4 separate regions of the Homo sapiens genome follow, and all the other regions are linked to region 1. The links are contacts of gene promoters, found by promoter capture Hi-C in blood cells and fetal thymus (Javierre and others, 2016). All regions are on one chromosome and are shown on one strand. Each heading gives the region's core, a stretch centred on a gene start or on the middle of the fragment in contact. The rest is flanking DNA. Distances are from core to core; before and after follow the strand shown. Region 1 holds the start of RYR3 (ryanodine receptor 3). Region 2 overlaps RYR3 (ryanodine receptor 3). Region 3 overlaps RYR3 (ryanodine receptor 3). Region 4 overlaps RYR3 (ryanodine receptor 3).

The links. The method cuts DNA at HindIII sites, captures the fragments that hold promoters and counts their contacts. A CHiCAGO score of 5 or more calls a contact.
Region 2: a contact is called between a fragment that was not itself captured here and the fragment with the promoter of RYR3 in region 1, in 4 of 17 cell types (erythroblasts, megakaryocytes, M1 macrophages and 1 more). The highest score is 16.3, in erythroblasts.
Region 3: a contact is called between a fragment that was not itself captured here and the fragment with the promoter of RYR3 in region 1, in 2 of 17 cell types (erythroblasts and megakaryocytes). The highest score is 7.5, in erythroblasts.
Region 4: a contact is called between a fragment that was not itself captured here and the fragment with the promoter of RYR3 in region 1, in 1 of 17 cell types (erythroblasts). The highest score is 5.0, in erythroblasts.

What each region holds. Positions count from the first base shown.
Region 1 is chr15:33,309,591-33,312,441 of GRCh38, reverse strand. It overlaps RYR3 (ryanodine receptor 3), which reads right to left and starts at 1,475. Exons shown (of 104, transcript NM_001036.6): 1 at 1,346-1,475. The coding sequence starts at 1,396. It overlaps RYR3-DT (RYR3 divergent transcript), which reads left to right and starts at 1,783. Exons shown (of 3, transcript NR_120327.1): 1 at 1,783-1,864. RefSeq lists enhancers at 233-742, 743-1,254. The HindIII fragment of the contact is 6,631 bases long and covers 1-2,851 here.
Region 2 is chr15:33,611,330-33,614,180 of GRCh38, reverse strand. RYR3 (ryanodine receptor 3) reads right to left here. Exons shown (of 104, transcript NM_001036.6): 19 at 806-998. Among named protein-coding and RNA genes, the nearest start is that of RYR3, 300 kb to the right of the region's middle. RefSeq lists an enhancer at 944-1,445. The HindIII fragment of the contact is 5,835 bases long and covers 1-2,851 here.
Region 3 is chr15:33,594,886-33,597,736 of GRCh38, reverse strand. The region is part of intron 16 of RYR3 (ryanodine receptor 3); the gene reads right to left. Among named protein-coding and RNA genes, the nearest start is that of RYR3, 290 kb to the right of the region's middle. The HindIII fragment of the contact is 8,809 bases long and covers 1-2,851 here.
Region 4 is chr15:33,569,941-33,572,791 of GRCh38, reverse strand. The region is part of intron 12 of RYR3 (ryanodine receptor 3); the gene reads right to left. Among named protein-coding and RNA genes, the nearest start is that of RYR3, 260 kb to the right of the region's middle. The HindIII fragment of the contact is 6,374 bases long and covers 1-2,851 here.

The sequences.
Region 1 (2,851 bases), core at 226-2,725:
AGAGATGAATACTCTAGCCTCTCAGTAGTACCAGCAGGGCGATAGGTACTTCCATACCCCCCCCAAATAAGACCCAAGTCCCAGCTTTGACAAAAGAACCATGTTTGGAAGAGAAACTGAAGTAAATTGGAAGGAAGCGCTTCAACAGGAGGAGAGTGGTTCAAAAGATGGACAAGAGGTAAGTTGTGATCTTCGAAGACCAGGTCATGGAGAAGGGGGCACCCTTAAAGGGAAGTGAGAGAGGGAAAGAAAGAATTTCATTCTAATTCCTGAGAGCAAGGCAGCGCATATAAAATTACCTAAGATTTACAGAGCGATTTGCCGTTTACAAAACATTATGACATTCACGATAACGTTTAATCCTTATCACCCTGAAACGCTGGTTACATTTTATTTTACACATGAGGAAACTGAGGCTGAGTAGGGCGGATTATGCGACTTGCTCAAGGTCACTTGGCTGAAGTCAGCGCTAGGATGCATCCCCAATGCCCCCACCCCTCCGGGTGGCCGTCCACCCTGAAAGTCTTTGTATTATCTCCTACAGGGCAAGGCTGGTGTGGCTGCAACAGACTTCGCCCCCTCACCCCCAAATCTGGGACGGAGCAGCGCCCTCAGGTGTCAAGGAGGGGACCTGAGTGACGCGGAGCCACTGACTGGGGTTTCCCTGTCCTGCGGGGCTCGCGGGAGCCAGGAGCAGAAGCCACAGCTCTCGAACACACGACAGGCAGTCAGTCAAGTCAGGCTCCAGCAGCAGTTGCCGGCGTGGGGCTTAACACGAGAGGGGCAGCGCTGGGTGAATTCCCCTCCGAGCGATCCCAGGGCTAGGACCAAGCGCCTGCGCCCGCTTCTCCGACCCGGCTCCCCACACTCCCCCCTGCCCCGCTGGCTCCTTCCCGGAGGTTCCCCTGTGCGTGGGGGCGCCCTGGAAGAGGAATGGGGCTGGGGTGGAGTATGGAGGTGTCAGAGGGCCGACCCCGGGGCGAGGGCTTCCAACGCCGATCTTATGGGTCAGGACAACCGCGAACAAACCCCGGCTGAAGTTTGGGCATCAAGGGTTTCAGACCAAGTAGCAAGTTGCCTGGAGAGCGAGCGGTCCTAGGTGGAGGGCCTGGGGCAGGGGTGGCGGTAGGGGAACAAGGGAGAGGCAGGAGATGGTGCCCCTTCCCACGCAGCCCCTCGCGGCCCCGCGGGTAGGTGGCCGGTCCGCCTCTGCAGCCCGCGGGTGCGGAGAAAGCGCCCGGCACCGGGCACCCGGCACCGCGGCGCAGCGCAGCCAGCCCCTCCTCGCCGCGCTCCGCGCTCCTCCCCACCTGCCCACGGCCTCGCCCCCGCCGCGGAGACTCACAGTCCTCAGAAACTGGATCTCGTCCTCGCCTCCTTCTCCCCCTTCGGCCATGGCTCCCGAGGCGTCGGCGGTGCCCCAGCCTCCGGCGCCTCTGCTTCCCCCGGCAGCCGCTCGGCGTGCGCTGACTGCTGCTGCGCTCTTTCTCCTCCTCCTTTTCGTCCTCGTCCTCCACCTCCTCCTCCAGCTCCTGGCTCAGCCTCAGCCTCAGCAGCGCCAAGCTAATCCCCGACCATATAGGGAGCTGGGCTAACACTCCACTGCACTGCAGAGCGCCAACGCCAACCAAGCAGTCCGCCCACCCCTCTCGCCTCTCGCCCCAGCCAAGTGCGCTGCGGCCGCCCGCTCCGTGGAGAGCGCAACGCTGGGCGCGTCGAGCTGGCGGGGGCGGTGCGGGGGCCCTGGGCTGGCGCGGTGGAGCCTCCCCCGCACCGCTGGGTACCGCACCGCACACTCAGCGGAGGCGCGCGCCCCGCGGCGACCGGAGGATGTCCCCTAAACTGCTCCAATTCACAAACAAAGGCCAGTTGCTTAGCTCCAGCGCGCCCAGACTGGGTACCAACCCTCTCGCTTTGCTCGCTTTGCCCGCTTTGCCCACTTTGCCTGTGTGTGTGTGTGTGTGTGTGTGTGTGTGTGTGTGTGTGTGACAGAGATAGAGAGAGAGAGAGAGGAAAGAGAGAGACAGAGACAGAGAGAGAGAGAGAGGAAAGAGAGAGACAGAGACAGAGAGACAGAGAGAGGAAAGAGAGAGAGACAGAGACAGAGAGAGAGAGAGAGAGAGAGAGAGAGATCTGGACTCGAATACCTTGCTAGGACCCGCGTGCATTGTTGGGCAAGGAGAAGACGGTGCAGTGAGGAGCGAGGGTGATTGTCCACTTACAACAAAGTTTGCAACTCCCTGGATAGTCCTTTCTACACCTTAAGAGAACCCCTTCCCCTCTTCAAAATTGGTAAGTACACTTTACCAAACCCCTGGATTGTCCAGGGTTGCTGTGACTTCTGTACCCCAGGGAGCTTCTGGGGGATCCTGTGCCACCCTCAATTTGGAAGTCAGGTGGCATCACAACCCTTCCTCTCTGCCCACCCCTAACCTTATTCTGCATTTAGAGTTCCAGCCCTGTGGACTCTAAAGGGAGTAGAGAGTAGTTACAGGAGGCTCCCTTCCAGGTCCTGGAAGGCTCCTACATCCCACCCAGCCTTAGGTCCTTTTCCATGGTTGGGGATTGCCAGATTGGTCCTTGCCTTGACTGACGGTGCAGGGTGCCCCCTTCTGTTTGATGGCCGAGAAGCTCCAAGGCAAGAGACTGTTCAAGGCAAAAGGCACCAGAGATGTAGATTTAGGAGGAAGTGCAACTGGGAAGGTGGTAATTCTGGGCTGATGATGGTGGAAGACACTGGAAACCCCAAGCCATTTCACAGCTTCATATACCGCCTCCTTGTGGACGACATCTATCTCTTGATGCTACCTTAAGATCTCTTTCCTGAGCTTCCGTCCCATATGTTCTGATG
Region 2 (2,851 bases), core at 256-2,755, 300 kb before region 1:
ATTTCTGCTGATGACAGTTTTGTCACAAAATGAGTTCAGGTTAGATTTTATTACAAAATGAGTTATGAACAAATTTATGGTTTTCAGAGCTTTTTAGATTCTAAAGTTATTGATAAGGAATTCTGAACTGTTTAGAGAATCTCAAAATCAATTTGGCCACATAATTATAAATTTAGACTTTAAAGCACACATGCATTCTGACCAAAAATGAAATTGGCATAGACTTGAACAGCAAAGTAATGGCTGTATCATGAAACAGCCAAATAAAGGGCTATTATATGGCTATAAAATCATTTTGAAGATACTCAATGACTCAGGAAAAGGCTCATTATTGTTGAATAAAAGATAATCAAGACATAAACTTCATATTCGGTGTAATACCAATTAAAAAATGATGTATATTTGTAGAAGAAAGGACTTGAAAAATATGCCAAAGTATTAATAGAGATTATAGCTAACCATTGGAATCATAGGTGATTTTTACTGTGTTGTTCATAACTATTGTCTTTGAAGTTTTTCTTATAATGAGCATGTAATACTTTTATAATTATTAATTTTCTACACAGGATTTATCCTATTAATCTTACTGTTTATCTGAGTACATAATACAACCCCTGGGGGAGGTTCTACCAGTAGAGATGGAGCAAATGACTCTAGTTGGCTCTTGCCCTTGCACCATCACTGTCCTGGGGAACTTAGTTCACAGTACTGAAGCCCTGAAGGAGACTGCTGGCTTCGCAGCTCACAGTGGTGGCGGGGAGGTGGGGTAACTGCTACTCTCCATGAAATCACAGCCATAACTTACTTGACACCTGCTGAAAAGCTCATCACAGGGAAGAAGAGCCCGTCTGTGTTGAAGTTCTCAAACATCCCCTGCACGGGCTGCCCATTGATGCGGAATGAGATGCTGGGCACCCCGAGGTCCAGGCAGCAGCTTACCACGTCATCCGATCTCAGGAGGTGCTGGTTGATGGAAGCCACAGCTCTGGGTATCCGGCCTGGTGAGGAAAGAACAGGAAGAAGGCTGTGGAACTCTGGAGGCACCTGCTAGGCTGAGAAAGGCTCAGAGGCCTCTGCGGGAGGTGGGGAGGTGTGATGGGTACTCAAGAGGTCCGGAGGTACTACTGCATTTGAAATGCAACTTTCCTTTTGTTTCCTTTTGTGTGAGATGAGCAATGAGAAATGAATTCCTAAGCTGGCGAGTGGGCAGACACCATGCCTGATTTGCGATGAGTCTCAGGGGAAATGCTCAAGCTGCTAAGAATGAGAAATAACAAAAACTTAATGTGCTCAATGAGTGTTCAGACTGTGGCCTGGTGTCTGAAGTAACAGACAGACTGCTTTTGCTGGTGTAGCTTGCTCTTCAGAAGTAGCTGGTGTGTGTGTCTGTTTAGTTGTAAGTGCCCAAAGACCTTCCTGTCTTCTACTTCCTCAAAAAGATTAGACTGCTGTAGAGTTGAATAGAGAAGCCATCAAAGAGAAGAATGGCAAGGCCATCTAGCCATTAAACTATGCTACATAGGCTGGGCACAGTGGCTCACGCCTGTAATCCCAGCACTTCCGGAGGCTGAGGCAGGTGGATCACCTGAGGTCAGGAGTTCGAGACCAGCCTGACCAACATGGAGAAACCCCGTCTCTACTAAAAATACAAAAGTAGCCGGGTGTGGTGGCGCATGCCTGTAATCCCAGCTACTCGGGAGGCTGAGGCAGGAGAATCGTTTGAACCCGGGAGGCAGAGGTTGCAGAGAGCCGAGACCGTGCCATTGCACTCCAGCCTGGGCAACAAGAGTGAAACTCCATCTCAAAAAACAAACAAACAAAAAAACTATGCTACGTAGTTTGCTTATTTGTTTTAAAGAACTTTATTATTTCGGATAAGCAGGAAAACACATTGCCAGTTATACTCTGAATTGATTAAAAAACTTCTTCACATCTCTTTCATTAGATGATTTATTATTTCCTGACTTAAAGTAGTGAGGAAAATCACCTCTCTGCTTTCCTATATCATCTTATTCTGGAAATTCTAAAAGTAAATATTAATAATTATAACCACCTACCCCTCCCCTCTCAGGTTTACATTTCTATTAGAAAGAGAGCAACAAAAGAGGAGTTAGGTTTTAAAATAGAGCTTCCAGCAAAAGATAAAAAGATATCTTGTTTCTTGATTACAGAAATAATATGTATTCATTATAAATGGTCACCATTTATACAGGAAAGTATACAAAAAGGCTGGGGAGCTCATGCCTATAATCCCAGCACTTTGGGTGGCCAAGGCAGGCAGATCGCTTGAGCTCAGGAGTTTGAGACCAGCCTGGCCAACATGGTGAAACTCTGTCTCTACTAAAGATACAAAAATTAGCTGGGCGTGATGACGTGCACCTGTAGTCCCAGCTACTTAGGGGGCTGAGGTGGAAAGATAGCTTGAACCCAAGAGGTGGAGGCTGAGGTGAGCTGAGATCATGCCACTGCGCTCCAGCCTGGGCGACAGAATGAGACCCTGTCTCAAATAAATACAAAAGAAAAAATATAACTCCATAAAAATTCTTCCAAATATATATGTACACACTCTATTTTGATGGAGTTATATATATTTTATGGAGTTATACACATTTTTTTTTCTTTTTGGAGACAGAGTCTCACTCTGTCGCCCAGGCTGGAGTGCAGTGGCACAATCTGGGCTCAATGCAAGCTCCACCTCCTGGGTTCACGCCAGGAGGCTGCCTCAGCCTCCCAAGTAGCTGGGACTACAGGTGCCCGCCACCACGCCCGCCTAACTTTTTGTATTTTTAGTAGAGATGGGGTTTCACCGTGTTAGCCAGGATGGTCTCGATCTCCTGACCTCGTGATCTGC
Region 3 (2,851 bases), core at 89-2,588, 290 kb before region 1:
CTAAATAAATGCTTTTTAAAGTTCCTGTTTAGTCCTTATTTTAAAGTTCCTATTTAAAGACTAAATAAAATGCTTTTTAAAGTTCCTGTAACTTAAGTAAAATCTTTTTTTTTTTTTTGAGACAGAGTCTCACACTGTTGCACTGTCGCCCAGGCTGGAGTACAGTGGTGCAATCTTGGCTCACTGCAACCTCCGCCTCCCGGGTTCAAGCGGTTCTCCTGCCTCAGCCTCCTGAGTAGCTGGGAATACAGGCGCCCACAACCCAGCTAATTTTTTGTATTTTTAGTAGAGACAGGGTTTCACTATGTTGACCAGGCTGGTTTCGAACTCCTGACCTCGTAATCTGCCCACCTCAGCCTCCCAAGGTGCTGGGATTACAGGCGTGAGCTACTGCGCCTGGCCAGTGAAATCTTTAATAAATAAGCTAGCTTTAAAATTACTGGTAAACTACTATTATAAATGCCTTAAGTATTGCCCAGCATACATTTTTGTTTGCATTTATTCATCAAGCAATTTCATACTTATCCCTGCCAAAATACTGTAAGGTGTCAAAATTTGGCATAGGGGTTACAAAACTACAAGCCCAGCCCAAAACAGAATAATCTTTGCTTTTGTAATTTGTAATAAATAAGACATTGATAAGGGTTTAATGATAATAGTTGTATCTTGAATTTAGTAAGATTACCGTAACTTCTAATCCGGTGGCTTTAGGCAGTCTAGTCCACAGGCAATAAGGAGGTTTGTTTTGGGAAAGAACTGTTATTGTCTATTTCAAAGCTAAACTACAAACTATGTTCCTCTCAAAGTTAGTTCGGCCTATGCCCAGGAATGAACAAGGACAGCTTGCAGGTTAAGAGGGAGGGGTGGGGGAAGAGAAGGATAGGGACAGATTTGTTTAATGATACAAAATTACAGCTAGATGGGAGGAATAAGTTCTAGTGTTCTATAGCAAAGAGATTATGGTTTTTGCCATTGAAAGGAATGGCAAACTGCAATTACTTTTGCACCAATCTAATAGTTAACAATAATATATTATATGGTTTCAAATAGGAGGATATTGACTATTCCCCACACAAAGAAATGATAAATGTTTGAGATGGTGGACATGCTAATTACCCTGATCTGATTACCATGTATATTATATGTATCACAACATCACTATGTACCCCATGAACATGTACAAGTATTATTCATCCACTTAAAATAAATAAATAAAAAGAAGTCAGAAATCCCCCCCCCCCAAAAAAAGAACAATATTGAGTTGGTCAGATCAAATCTCTTTTCAGTGTCTCAGTTATAATTTTGCAACGGCAGTTTTATAACTTTAAATAATGACTGTCACAGTTTTCGTGAATAATCTAGGTAAACAAAACAATTAGGTAAATGTAATGGCACAAATATTTGTAGACAAACTGGTCATAATTTAGAATATAAAGCTATATTAAATCAAATAATAGATATTTCACTATTTGGGTATTTTCCAATAAATACATATTGTAGGAAAACATTATTGTTAAAGAAAAAAAAAGTGTGTCCTTAAAAAAAAGTGAACAAGTTTTGTCTAATTCAAAACTTAAAGGTTATGTATACAACAAGGTAAAAGGAACCAGGAATAAAAAAGACGTAAAGAAAGTTATAAAAATAAAGAGGCTTTTTTTTTTGAGGTGAAAAACTTAAAGAGAAATAATTTTATATAAGAAAGAATCTTGTATGGTAAATTTAGTCCTAAAATAAAATCACTGATTTTTTAAAAAGGAGGGATGTTCAGAATAAATCAGAAAGTCCAACCCTGTCATGAGCAGTCAGTGTAAGTCACAATAAGAGGATTTACACTTTAAAAAAAATTCACACAATCAAGTTGTCATATGAAGTTTTGGTTTGCTTAGGGAAAAAAACTGAGATAAATTTTTTTTTAAATTAAGGTTATTACATTATTACATCCATGTATCTTCCTGTATGTGCTTTTAAAGTTCTTGTAACATTGAGTTACAGGGCTCTAACTCCTGGGTCTAAAAAGGACACCAAGTCCTGCTAAATCTTAAACACTGATAGCAATTGAAGGCTCATCTTCAGGCCCGATAGAAGATGTCAATCAAAATAAACTGCATTCCTGAGACACAGGGCAAGAAATTAAAGCTATTCAACTCCTCAAGGCCCAGGGACTGTCTCCAAACAGGTGGGTGTGTAAGATTATAAGATTGTAAGGTGGGCCAATTTTGAAAGATAAAATAAGTGCAGTTCCTCTATAAACTAATTATTAATGTTAAAGGCAAACTGATGCAAAACCAGTATATGGACCCCTGTGTCAGATTAACAAGGTTTTCTTGAAGCATTAACCAACTTCTTAATAAAGATTATAAAGGTTACAAAAGGCTTACGGAAGTTATATTTTATAATCAAGATTAAATTTTATAAATTGTTTATAAAAGTTTGAAAGCAAACGTAATTGACTTCATGCTGTTTCTATTAGGGCTTCCTTGTTTAGAAAATTAAGTCTTCTCTCTCAAAGAATGAAGGTTTTCACTTTTTGAAATGCTTGAATTATCACTTAAATAAATGACTTTACAATGACCTGTAATCCTATTTTGTAGTATCAAGTGTTTTAAACCTTTTATATTTGACAAACTTTCCAAAATCAAATTATAAATTATGTCTTTTTCTAATCTAATCTTTTAAGACATTAGGTTCCCTAAAGTCCAAAAATGACATAATTTAGCTTATTTGGTATAAAAATTATACAGGAAGCATTGTCAAATATGAAATGGTATTTGGTTTCTTTGGGATATATTTGTATAAATGTGTTATTGGTGTGTATTCCAAAATTATGGAAAACTCCTGTAATTCTGATGTA
Region 4 (2,851 bases), core at 163-2,662, 260 kb before region 1:
TGTTGGTCAGGCTGGTCTCGAACCCCCGACCTCAGGTGATTCGCCCACCTTGGCCTCCCAAAGTGCTGGGATTACAGGCGTGAGCCATTGTGCCCAGCCCAGTGTGTGTGTGTGTGTGTGTGTGTGTGTGTGTATATATAGTTTTTTTTTTTTAATTTAATGAGCCTTAGGAAGAACAGTTGGAGTCTATGGTGTTTCAGCCTGTTGATGCTTCCATCTCCCTCCCCCCACCGCCTCATGGCAAAACAGCTCCAACAGGGCAGAGTAGGCAGTGGGCAAGGCCACACACATGCTCGGGAAAAACTGGAGAGGACCCTAGCTATCTATTCATTCCCGCACAAGCAGAAGACAAAATCCAGGATAGAACTCTAAACTGCCTGAACCTCGAACTGTCATTCAGCCCACACACACAGGTCCATCAGCAAATAGTCACAGGCTTGTCTTGTAAGAAATACTAAGGGAAGTCCTTCAGGCTGAAAGAAAATGACACCAAACAGTAACTGGAATCCATGCAAAGAAATAAAGAATACTGGTAAAGGTAACTATGCAGGTAAATACCAGAAACAATATAAAAACATGTATCTTTCTTTTATGTTCCTGTAATTTATTCAAAAAACAACTTCATAAAATAATTATAAAACTGCGTTGCTGAGCTTATAACTTATGAAGATATAATATATGTGGCAATATTATCACAAAGGAGTAGGCAAAGAATGGAAAAATGTTAATGCAAAGTTGCTTTGTTAAGTTAGTATTAATTTGAAGTGGATTATTTCAAGTTAAATATATATTAAGTTCCCTAGAGCAACCACTAAGAGAATAACTCCTCAAAAAAGTATTTTTAAAAACCCAAATTAATTAAAATGTTACACTAGAGAATATCTATTTAACACAAAAAAAGGTAGTAAGGGAGGAATAGAGGACCAAAAAATAACAAAAGAAACATAAGAAATAAATAGCAAAGTGGCAGACATAAATCCAGTTATCTAAATAATTACATTAGATATAAATGGATGAAGCATACCAATGAAAGGGAGAGATTGTCAGACTATTTTAAAAAATCAAATATGTGTTGTCTACAAGGGACACACTTTATATTCAAGGACACAAATAAGTTAAAAGTACAAAGATTGAAGACAATATGCCATACAAACAAAAAACATAATCTGCACATTCAAGACACCTGGAATGGCTCTATGAAGTAGACTTAAGACAAAACTGTTCATAAAGAAAAAAGAAAAATAGTTTAAAATTACAAAAGGGCAAATTTATCAGAAATATATATCTATTATAAACATATAAGCACCTAACAACAGAAACCAAAATATGTGAAGCAAAAACTGATGGAATTGAAGTAGAAGATGACAATTCAACAGTAACAGAAACATCAATACCCGATTCTCCACCAGTTAATGTAATAAACCATATTAACAAAGGACAAAACTATATGATCATATCGATAGACCAAGAAAAAGCATTTGAAAAAATCTAATGCTCATTCAAGATAAAAGCTCTCAACAAACCAGGAATAGAAGGGAACTTCCTCGACCTGATAAAGGGTATCTACAAAAACCCTACAGTCAATATCGCACTTAACGGTGAAAAATTGGTGTTTCCCACCCTGTCCCCACCCCCACCTTAGATCAGGAACAAGACAAGAATGTCTGTTCACATCACTTTTATTCCACATTGTAGTGGATGTTCCAGCCAGTGCAATAATGCAAGAAAAATAAATAAAGGGCATCCCTATTGGAAAGAAAAAAATAAAGCTCTTTTTATTCACAGATGACATAATCCTGTATGTAAAAAGTTCTAAAGAATCCACCTGCTCCCCAAAAAGCCCACTGAACTAATAAATAATTTCAATTAGGTCAATGACATAAGATCAGTATTTTTAAAACTTAATTTCTATATACCAGAAAATAATCTGAAATGAAATCAAAAAAATAATTATATTTGTAGTAGCACCAAAAAGAATCAAATACATAGGAATACATTTCATAAAAGAAGTGCAAGACTTATATAATAAAAACCACAATATCTTCCTGAAAATAATTAAAAAATAAATAGACATTTTATGTTTGAAGATTGGAAGACTTAATGAGGATAACAGTCCTCCAAAACTGATCTCTAGATTCAATTTAATACCCATCAAAATTCCAGCAGAATTTTTTTTGGACAAAAATTAATAAACTCACTCTAAAATTTACATGGGAATACAAAGGACCCAGAAGCACCAAAATAAATTTTGCAAAGAAGTAAAAAATTGGAGCATTCACTGTACATGATTTCAATACTTACTATAAAGGCACATTAATTAAGACAGTGTCATTTTGGAATAATGACAGGCATATAGATCAATGGAACAGAACTAAGCGTCCAGAAAGAACTCTTATATTTATGATCACTTGGCTTTTGACAAAGGTGCCAAGGTAACTTGATGGGGAAATATTCTCTTTCCAGAAAACTGTGCAGGGGAAAATCTGATATCCATATGGCCACACGCAAAAATATTAATTTAAACCTTTACCTCATACTATGCACAGAAATAGACTCAAAATAGATCACGGACCTAAATGTAAACGCTAAAATTTTGAAACTTTTAGAAAAACACAGAGGAGAAAATCATGATGATTTTGAGTAAGGTAAAGAGTTCTTAGATATGACACCAAAAGCAGAATCCATAAATATGTTAAACTGAACTTAATCAAAAATTAAAACGTTTGTGCTTCAAAAGACACCATTTAAAAAAAATGAGAAAAGCCAAAGACCAAGAGAAAATATTTGCAAATCATAAATATGGCAAAAAAATTGTAATCAGAAGGTACAAAGAACTCTCAAATTTTAAGAC